2 separate regions of the Homo sapiens genome follow, and region 2 is linked to region 1. Evidence: promoter capture Hi-C in human tissues and cell types (Jung and others, 2019). All regions are on one chromosome and are shown on one strand. Each heading gives the region's core, a stretch centred on a gene start or on the middle of the fragment in contact. The rest is flanking DNA. Distances are from core to core; before and after follow the strand shown.

The links. Contacts are between HindIII fragments. The study calls those that stand out against the background at their distance.
Region 2: a fragment that was not itself captured here is called in contact with the fragment with the promoter of HELQ in region 1 in 1 of the 25 tissues and cell types used here (spleen).

What each region holds. Positions count from the first base shown.
Region 1 is chr4:83,452,365-83,457,181 of GRCh38, reverse strand. HELQ (helicase, POLQ like) reads left to right here and starts at 1,359. Exons shown (of 18, transcript NM_133636.5): 1 at 1,359-1,785; 2 at 3,237-3,951. The coding sequence starts at 1,489. MRPS18C (mitochondrial ribosomal protein S18C) reads right to left here and starts at 1,124. Exons shown (of 6, transcript NM_016067.4): 1 at 1,005-1,124; 2 at 224-273. The coding sequence starts at 1,104. RefSeq lists enhancers at 1,072-1,366, 1,353-1,462, 1,803-1,852, 1,281-2,111. The HindIII fragment of the contact is 3,157 bases long and covers 1-2,366 here.
Region 2 is chr4:82,403,175-82,407,812 of GRCh38, reverse strand. No RefSeq gene overlaps it. Among named protein-coding and RNA genes, the nearest start is that of HNRNPDL, 25 kb to the left of the region's middle. The HindIII fragment of the contact is 5,458 bases long and covers 1-4,592 here.

The sequences.
Region 1 (4,817 bases), core at 110-2,609:
AGGAATTCCCCTACTTCAAAACTCAGCTGACTACATGACTACAATCAATTCATCATCATTTCTGAACTCAGAGTAATTATCAAATTGTTTTGTCCTACGGCAGAACTCTATTCAAGTAGCTAAAATAAAAGATGTTAGAGTCTAATACCAGATCTCGTTTTAAAAAGAAAAACATTTTGGTCATATTTGCAAAGGCCTTACTAATAGAAAAAAAAATTCTTACCAGGTCCTCATTGCTGGATACCTGTTGTGAACAACCTCTTCTCCAAAGCACTGCGATTAAACAGAAACAGCAATTAACCATTTCTTTTTCTTAGCTGAATAGCTAAAGATTTTTGTTTTTATGGAGACAGGATGAATTAAGGGACACGATATTAAAGAAAGGTTTTGTATTATATTCAGAATGGTTAAAAACTTTTATATTTGGGACAGAGTAAGACTCAACATGGGTGTGCTTTCCAGGGCTTAGGGGGAAAAGAACATATTTTCCCGCCCATACCTGCTCTTTCTGACATTTATTTTCCCTTCATTCCATGGTTAGAGAAAATTCTTAATGCAAATTCTTATAGGAGAAGCAACAGAAAGGCACTGTCATACCAAAAAGAAAGTAACAGACCCGTCCCAGAAAGAATTTATAGAGAAGCACAGAGAAGATAAAATTGCAAAAATTATGCAATTTTGTTCTGTTTGGGGACCTTAGACATCTGGAATTTGCTGCTGGGCGACTCTGGAAATGTCCCTTCCTCACTAAGATTATCCAGAGATCTTAGGAAAGTCTCTGCTTTTTAAGAACCACTCCAACTTCCTCATACGTTTAAATACTTTAAAGGAGTGGATTAGACGACACTAAAACAGTCAAAGGCAATTACAGATTCCCACCCATCTTGGAGAAACTTAATCGCCTAGAAACCAGAGTCGTTTTGCTAACAGGGACGACTCTAACCATTAGGACTAAGGTTAATGCCTGCAGCGCTACAATGGAGCATAGGATATGGAGACTTTACCCGTGTGAGTCCCGGGATGTGTAAGGCTGACAGCAGCCGTTACCAAGTGTGTCAACTTCTTCCTCCCTAGACCACCGCAAACAGCAACCACAGCGGCCATGGTTCCGCGTTTCTTCCACTTCCTTTCGTTCCAAATCGTTCCGAAAGGCCCCTTCCGCTGCTCTTCCCCTGTGGGCTCGAGTACCCCGTTCAAAGGTTCCGCAGGAGAACGCTGAGGACCCGCGAGAGTAGGTGAGGTTTTTCAATACGCATGCGCAGCACCTTTCTGTTCGTGCCCTCCCTACGCGGCAGGTCACGTGAGGCTTATGATTGGACAGGGTAGAAGTTTATGCGTGCTTCCGGTCCGCGAGCCCTGAGAGCTAACTTGGGGTCTTTTCCCAAGGTGGATGTAGAAGCGGGCTCCGGCGTCCCACTCTCCCTTCCATATGGGCTTAGCGTCTGGGTCACTGAGAACGACGTCTGAATAGGGCCCTGGGTCCTTGCCATGGATGAATGTGGTTCCCGCATCCGCCGGCGGGTGTCTCTCCCCAAAAGGAACCGTCCAAGCTTGGGGTGTATTTTTGGCGCTCCCACCGCGGCCGAGCTCGTGCCCGGAGATGAGGGGAAAGAGGAGGAGGAAATGGTGGCTGAGAACAGGAGGCGGAAAACCGCGGGCGTACTGCCGGTTGAGGTACAGCCCCTTCTACTCTCAGATTCCCCGGAATGTCTCGTCCTTGGAGGTGGTGATACAAACCCGGACCTCCTACGTCACATGCCCACTGACAGAGGGGTGGGAGACCAGGTACGGAGGACTTGGAACTTGAAACTGCAAACTTTTGGCATCCTTCCCAGATGCAAAGAGTTGACCAGTTTTATCGCCTTCGTTTACTTCTCTCGTCTTCGTTACCACTGTTAATCGGCACTTAGGAGGTATTGATTGCCTTGTTATTTACATTTCTATATAAATATGAAATGTAAACCCCGAGACATAAAAGTTGTGCACGCAGCAGTTAAGTGGCATGACTGAGACACAAATCTAGGCTTCCAGATAACTGCAGCTCCTACTGTACAAATAAAATCTGCTGTTTATTGAAGACCCGTTATGTTAAGCTAGTTATATTATCTAGATTTTACGACAGTAATCAGGCCCTGAAAAGTTGAGATAGTACAGTTCTTGCTCCAAATCCTGTTGTCTTAATCACTTTACTATATTGCTGCCTCCAGGTTTGTGTGTCTTCTGTGTAGCAGACCACTCCAAGTCAGTATTCAGTTTCTCAGTCTCAATTCCAAATTCCTAGGAACTCCTTGGAGTGTCTAGTGGTACAACCATGTTTCTGTTAGAGGCCAGTCACTGTAGATTGTAGTCTGGGAGGGAAGCGCTGCAGTTATCAGAAACTTCGAATGCGCTGACATTTCAGTAGACGTCTACCAGTCTTCCTGCTGTTTTAGTACAGCTTTAAGAATTACAATCTGGCCGTGTGCAGTGGCTCATGCCTATAATCCCAGTGCTTTAGGAGGCAGAGATGGGAGGATCACTTAAGCCCAGAAGTTCGCGTTCAAAACCAGCCTAGGCAACAGAGACCCAGTCTCTACAAAAAAAAAAAAAAATTTTTTTTTCTTAATTAGCCGGGTGTGGTGGCCTGCACCTGTAGTCCTAGCTACTTGGGAGGCTGAGGCAGGAGGATCGCTTGAGCCCAGGATGTCAAGACTGCAGTGAGCTGTGATCGTGCAGTGGCTGGAGCCACTGTGCTCCAGCCTGGGTGACAGAGCCAGACCCTGTCTCAAAAATTAGAATCTCAGTATCATCGTAACACTCCTGAACCTGCTGTTTAGGCAAGTAATTTAACCTCTTTGGGCCTCCATTTCTTCAGCTGTAAGATATCTATTTACATATAGGTCTGTGATCCATATGTGACCATATAATTATATACTTGGTACAGCCCTAGGCTGAAGTGTTTTTTGGGGGTTTTGTTTGTTTGTTTGTTTTGGTTTTTTTGAGACAGAGTCCCACTCTGTTGCCCAGGTTGGAGTGCAATGGCGCGATCTGGGCTTACCGCAACCTGCGCTTCCCAGGTTCAAGCAATTCTCCTGCCTGAGCCTCCGAGTAGCTGGGATTACAGGAGCATGCCACTATGCCCGGCTAATTTTTGTATTTTCTGTAGACACGGGGTTTGACCATGTTGGCCAGGCTGGTGAAGCTTTTATTCTTAATGAAACTGGAATTGACCATAAGCGTTTTTGTTCTCTTTGCAGCCTAATGACAGTGAAGTGGACATGTTTGGTGACTATGATAGCTTTACTGAAAACTCCTTTATAGCTCAAGTTGACGACCTGGAACAAAAATATATGCAACTCCCTGAACATAAGAAACATGCTACAGACTTTGCCACTGAAAATCTTTGCTCGGAAAGTATCAAAAACAAACTCAGCATTACTACCATAGGCAACCTTACTGAATTACAAACTGATAAGCACACAGAGAACCAGAGTGGATATGAAGGTGTCACTATTGAACCTGGAGCTGATCTTTTGTATGATGTACCTTCCTCACAGGCTATATACTTTGAAAATTTGCAGAACTCTTCAAATGATTTGGGTGATCATTCTATGAAAGAAAGGGATTGGAAGTCATCCTCTCACAACACTGTGAATGAGGAACTGCCCCATAATTGCATAGAGCAACCCCAGCAAAATGATGAGTCCTCTTCCAAAGTCAGAACTAGTTCAGATATGAACAGGAGAAAAAGTATTAAAGATCATCTAAAAAATGCCATGACTGGAAATGCGAAGGCCCAGACACCAATATTTTCTAGAAGTAAACAGCTCAAAGACACTCTCCTATCTGAGGAAATTAATGTTGCTAAGAAAACAGTTGAGTCATCATCAAATGACCTTGGTCCTTTTTATTCATTACCCAGCAAAGTGAGAGACCTTTATGCCCAATTCAAGGGAATTGAAAAATTATATGGTAATGCTTTTTGCTGGAATAAAAAAATTTTTTTCCTATCATTACCATAATATTAGTGCAAGTAAATAGAAGCAAATGCTTTCATGGTCCATACTGTTTCTCATTTTGAAAACAAAAGATCAGTGATCTCTCAGCCCCTTCCATTCCTACCTGTCCTGCTACCACTGAACCTCTTTCCTTCCCTCACAGTCACACTTATCAAACCAGTTATCCTTTCTGTCTGTTTCCTTACCTGACATAATTCCTCTAATTCCTCATCTATAAGAAAGGGATAATAAGTTGTTAGCAAGTCAGATTCTGGTTCAAAGACATGCCAAATTCAATGTTGGTAATGATTTTCAATAATTATATTGGTAGCTTCTAAGTAAGAACTTTAGTAAATTACCCCACTCTAATTCTGGGTTCTGTGCTCTCATTCTCTCACTTAAGATCTGATGACTGAGACGTCTAAACACAGTGTTACTTTTAATGTTTACCTTACCTGACTTCTCAATAACTTACCTGATGCTATTGACTACACCCTTCTTGAAATTCTTGTTTCTGGATGTCCTTACAACCACTCCTGTTTTTTGACCCCGATTGTCTAGTAGAGATCCTCAGCTTTCTTAGTTGTATTTCCTTGGCTGGCTCTGTCTTCTCTACCAAAACCTAGCTGTTGTGGTATGTCTTTGACACTCACATGTCTTGAGTGAAAGAAGTCAGTTATTAGTAATACTGTTGATTAAACCAAACATCTTTCCCCCCACACCAGCAGCCGCAGCTACCTCTCCCCACGGGTGCATCCCTGCCACCACCCAGATGCTCTGCCTTGTGCTGCCTTTCCCAAAGCTAGACATCTTTAAAGACAGCTGCAATTAAGTTTTAAG
Region 2 (4,638 bases), core at 614-3,113, 1.0 Mb after region 1:
AACAAAGCAATACCTTGTCTCAAAAAAAAATTTTTAGGCCGGGCGCGGTGGCTCACGCCTGTAATCCCAGCACTTAGGGAGGCAGAGGCGGGCAGATCACGAGGTCAGCAGATCGAAACCATCCTGGCTAACACAGTGAAACCCCGTCTCTACTAAATATACAAAAAATTAGCCGGGCGAGGCGGCAGGCGCCTGTTGTCCCAGCTACTCAAGAGGCTGAGGCAGGAGAATTGCGTGAACCTGGGAGGCGGAGCTTGCAGTGAGCCGAGATCGCGCCACTGCACTCCAGCCTGGGCAACAGAGGGAGACTCTACCTCAAAAAAAAAAAAGAAAAAGAAAAAGAAAAAGAAATACCCTATTAAATATACATGAAAGATTTTAAGTTGTATCCTGATTTCAGAAATATTAATATATGAAAAAGATCATTTTAGGAAAAATAACATACCATATGTCTCTGGTTCTTTTTTTTTTTTTTTTGAGACGGAGTCGCTCTGTCGCCCAGGCTGGAGGGCAGTGGCGCCATCTTGGCTCACTGCAAGCTCTGCCTCCCGAGTTCACGCCATTCTCCTGCCTCAGCCTCCCGAGTAGCTGGGACTACAGGCGCCCGCCATCACGCCCAGCTAATTTTTTTTCTACTTTTAGTAGAGACGGGGTTTTCACCGTGTTGGCCAGGATGGTCTCGATCTCCTGACCTCGTGATCCGCTCACCTTGGCCTCCCAAAGTGCTGGGATTACAGGAGTGAGCCACCGCTCGCGGCCTTGTCTCTGGTTCTTTTTTTTTTTTTTTGTGGTGGAGTCTCCCTCTGTTGCCCAGGCTGGAGTGCAGTGGTGCGATCTCGGCTCACTGCAAGCTCCGCCTCCCGGGTTCACGCCATTCTCCTGCCTCAGCCTCCTGAGTAGCTGGGACTACAGGCGCCCGACACCACACCCGGCTAATTTTTTGTATTTTTAGTAGAGACGGGGTTTCACCGTGTTAGCCAGGATGGTCTCGATCTCCTGACCTCGTGATCCGCCTGCCTCGGCCTCCCAAAGTGCTGGAATTACAGGCGTGAGCCACCACACCCGGCTGTCTCTGGTTCTTAAAGATTATCCTTAGACTCCTGCTCCCCTCGTGCAAGCTGCAATCATTTCTGCCCCTATTTGTTAGGATCCTGACCGCCAATGAGTCGACAGTCTCCTCCTCCAGACTTTTCTTTACATTTCAAAACTCAGGGTAGTATATTTTGGGGGACAGGAACAGTGCTAAATATATTCGCCTGCTAACATACTTAATTCTCACAATAATCCTGATGAGAGAAATCCAGTTTAGAGCCTTGTAGAGTAACTTGCTCCATGAATATCTGTTAATGAAAACCTCAGCAAGGACAAATGATTTGCCCATGTCTTGTCCTGTTAGAGACAGAATTCAAACCTGACTGGCTAGAAAGCCTGTGCCCTTTTCTGTACATCAACCTGCATGCCAGTATTGTGTTCAAAGGTGTTTTCCCTATCTTGGATTCCTGTGGAAAAGTTTATCAAGACCATCTATGTACCAGTTGATCTATAAAATCTCAATGCTTATTCGTTTTCTTTTTCTTTTTTTTCTTTCTGTCCTGAATGGTGTTAGAGAGAACACTATCTCACCATTTCTGCAGGCTATTTTATTTTATTTTTTGAGACAGTCTCGCTCTGTCACCCAGGCTGGAGTGCAATGGCTTGATCTCAGCTCACTGCAAACTCTGCCTCCCGGGTCCCAGCGGTTCTCCTGCCTCAGCCTCCTGAGAAGCTGGGACTACAGGCACCTGCCGCCACGCTCAGCTAATTGTGTCTTTTTAGTAGAGACAGGGTTTCACCATGTCGGCCAGGCTGGTCTCGAACTCCTAACCTCAAGTGATCCGCCCACCTCAGCCTCCCAAAGTACTGGCATTACAGGAGTGAGCCACGGTGCCTGGCCCATTTCTGCAGGCTTTAAAACTGAGAAAATAAATTAGCTGGGACTGAGAAAATAAAAATATGCCCCGCTATGCATGAATCTGGGAGGACACATACAAATAAAGTTAGCTGCAAAGTTAAAGAGAAATAATGTTTCTCTCAAGGACATGCTGCAGCTGTAAAGCATAAAAACAACCCCCTTGCTGGTGTGACTACTGTTTTGTCTCTGACTGAGAAGCTTAGTTCCCTGAAATGATAGACCAGAAACCACGGAAATTATGTCAGGAAAAATGAAATATCCCACTCTTACTTGGAACATCTAAGGCACAAAGAAGCAACTTTGATTTCCAATCCAGGTGCAAAGCTTCAGAGAAGGACTTTCTGAAAACAACATTCCACCTTAACTTCCTAGTACCCAAAGAGACGGGAACCATGGCCAGGCGTGGTGGCTCACCCCTGTAATCCCAGCACTTTGAGGGGCCGGGGCAGGCAGATCACCTGAGGTCAGGAGTTCGAGACCAACATGGCAAAACCCCGTCTCTACTAAAAATAACAAAATTAGCTGGGTGTGGTGGCAGGCACCTGTGGTCCCAGCTACTCAGGAGGCTGAGGCAGGAGGATAGCTTGAGTCCAGGAGGCGGAGGCTGCAGTGAGCCGAGGTTGTGCCACTGCACTCTGTCTCAAAAAAAAAAAAAAAAAAGAAAAGAAAAAGAAAAGAAACAGGAACCTGTTCTCCTTTGCAGTCCAGATCTGATGTTGTCCCACTTTACATACAACCCTATTTTGCTTTGATCCTATCAAAATACTGCTTTATTTAATTTTCACCTAAATGTCTCTCTTCCCCAAATCCTATCTTTTTTTCTTTTTTTGAGACAGAGTCTCCCTCTTGTCGACAGGTTGGAGTGCAGTGGTGTGATCTGGGCTCACTGCAGCCTCTGCCTCCCAGGTTCAAGTGATCCTCCTGCCTCAGCCTCCCGAGTAGCTGGGACTCCAGGCATGTGCCACCATGCCCTGCTAATTTTTGTATTTTTAGTAGAGACAGGGTTTCACCATGTTGGCCAGGATGGTGTTGATCTCTTGACCTCATGATCTGCCTGCCTTGGCCTCCCAAAGTGCTGGGATTACAGGTGTGAGCCACCATGCCCAGTCCCTATCTTTTTTTTTTTTTTTTTTTTTTTTGGACATAGGGTCTCACTGTAGCCCAGGCTGGAGTGCAATGGTGCAATTACAGCTCACTGCAGCCTCCACCTCCTGGGCTCAAGTGATCCTCCCACCTCAGCCTCCTGAGTAGCTGGGACCACAGGCGCATGACAGCACACCAGGCTAATATTTTTGTATTTTCTGTAGAGACAGGGTTTCACCACGTTGCTATGCTGGTCTCAAACTCCTGGGCTCAAGTGATCAGACCTTCTTGGCCTCCCAAAGTGCTGGGATTATAGGCTTGAGCCACCATGCCCAGCCCCTTATCTTATCTTTTCTTCTGTTTGGTGAGACATCTCATAGTTTCTCTGATGTGCAGTCTCTCTTGTTGCAGCAAGTCAGTAAACCGTACTTCTTTCAACTACAGGTTTGTCCCTGATGGTCTGAGGCTGATTGGGCTGGAACAGTATCATGGAGGTATGGCCAAGATCCTCGGTGCCGTGAACCAGAACCCTTGGTAATAATATGCGCATCTGAGACTTCTTGAGTCTCCCCTGCATTAGGCCTCTCTGTCCTTGATTACATGGGTTTTGCATTGAAACTGGACTTTTATTATCTCTTTGGTCCCTTAGGGTCATGCTGATTTCTTGAGTCAGCAGGCAGAGCAATTTATCCTTGGGGTTAGGGCCCAAATTCATGAGTTTTTCTTTTATGTTTTGTATTTTAAAAAGAGAGAGAATTTATTTTAAAACAGTTTCTTTTATATTACTTATAAAAGTAATATTTTTATTTTTGACCACCAGCCAACCTCTTGTGGTTTGCCTCTAAGATACTTGCACTACTTCCTGGCATAACTTGACAGAGGACCGTGAATTATAGAGGCTACTCTGGAGAACTTTGGCTCAAATAAGATTGTTCATTTTAGACATGTCTTAGAATGAAAAAGGAAAAAAACCCAAGTCTCATGAGGGTACTGTCTTCTCTATTCTTTTTCTTTTTTATTAAAATTTTTTTTCTCTTTTTTAAATGTTTTTTCTTTTTTGTCTTATCTTTCTAAAAGAGAGATCATTTAGTTTAATGAAAGACTCCCTCCCTCCCCAAACATCCTTCATTTCCATTCTTAGGGGTTTAATAAATATTGGCTGCTTTATTCTATGAGTTGGCAAAATTGTCAAGGGCCCAAGTTACTGTTTCAACCAGGTGTAACAACTTGTGTGTGTGCAAGTGTATCCTGAAATGGGTTTTTCTATATCTAAACTTCTTCCCTCTCCTTAGAGCAGAAAGATTATTAGCTTTTCTCCAATAATTGTATATGTATCTATAGCTGGCTCTTGCTTTTTCTTTTATTTTCTTTTCTTTCTTTTTTTTAAAGAGACAGAGTTGCACTGTGTTACCCAGGCTGGAGTGCAGTGGCTATCCACAGGTGTGATTACAGTACACTACAGCCGCGAACCCCTGGCCTTAAGCGATCCTCCTGCTTCAGCCTCCTGAGTAGCTGGGACTACAGGTGCATGCCACTGTGTCTGGATTCTTCTCACTTTCTTTTCCTGTTTTCTCCCTCCTATCCTCCCTCAAGAAATTTTAAAG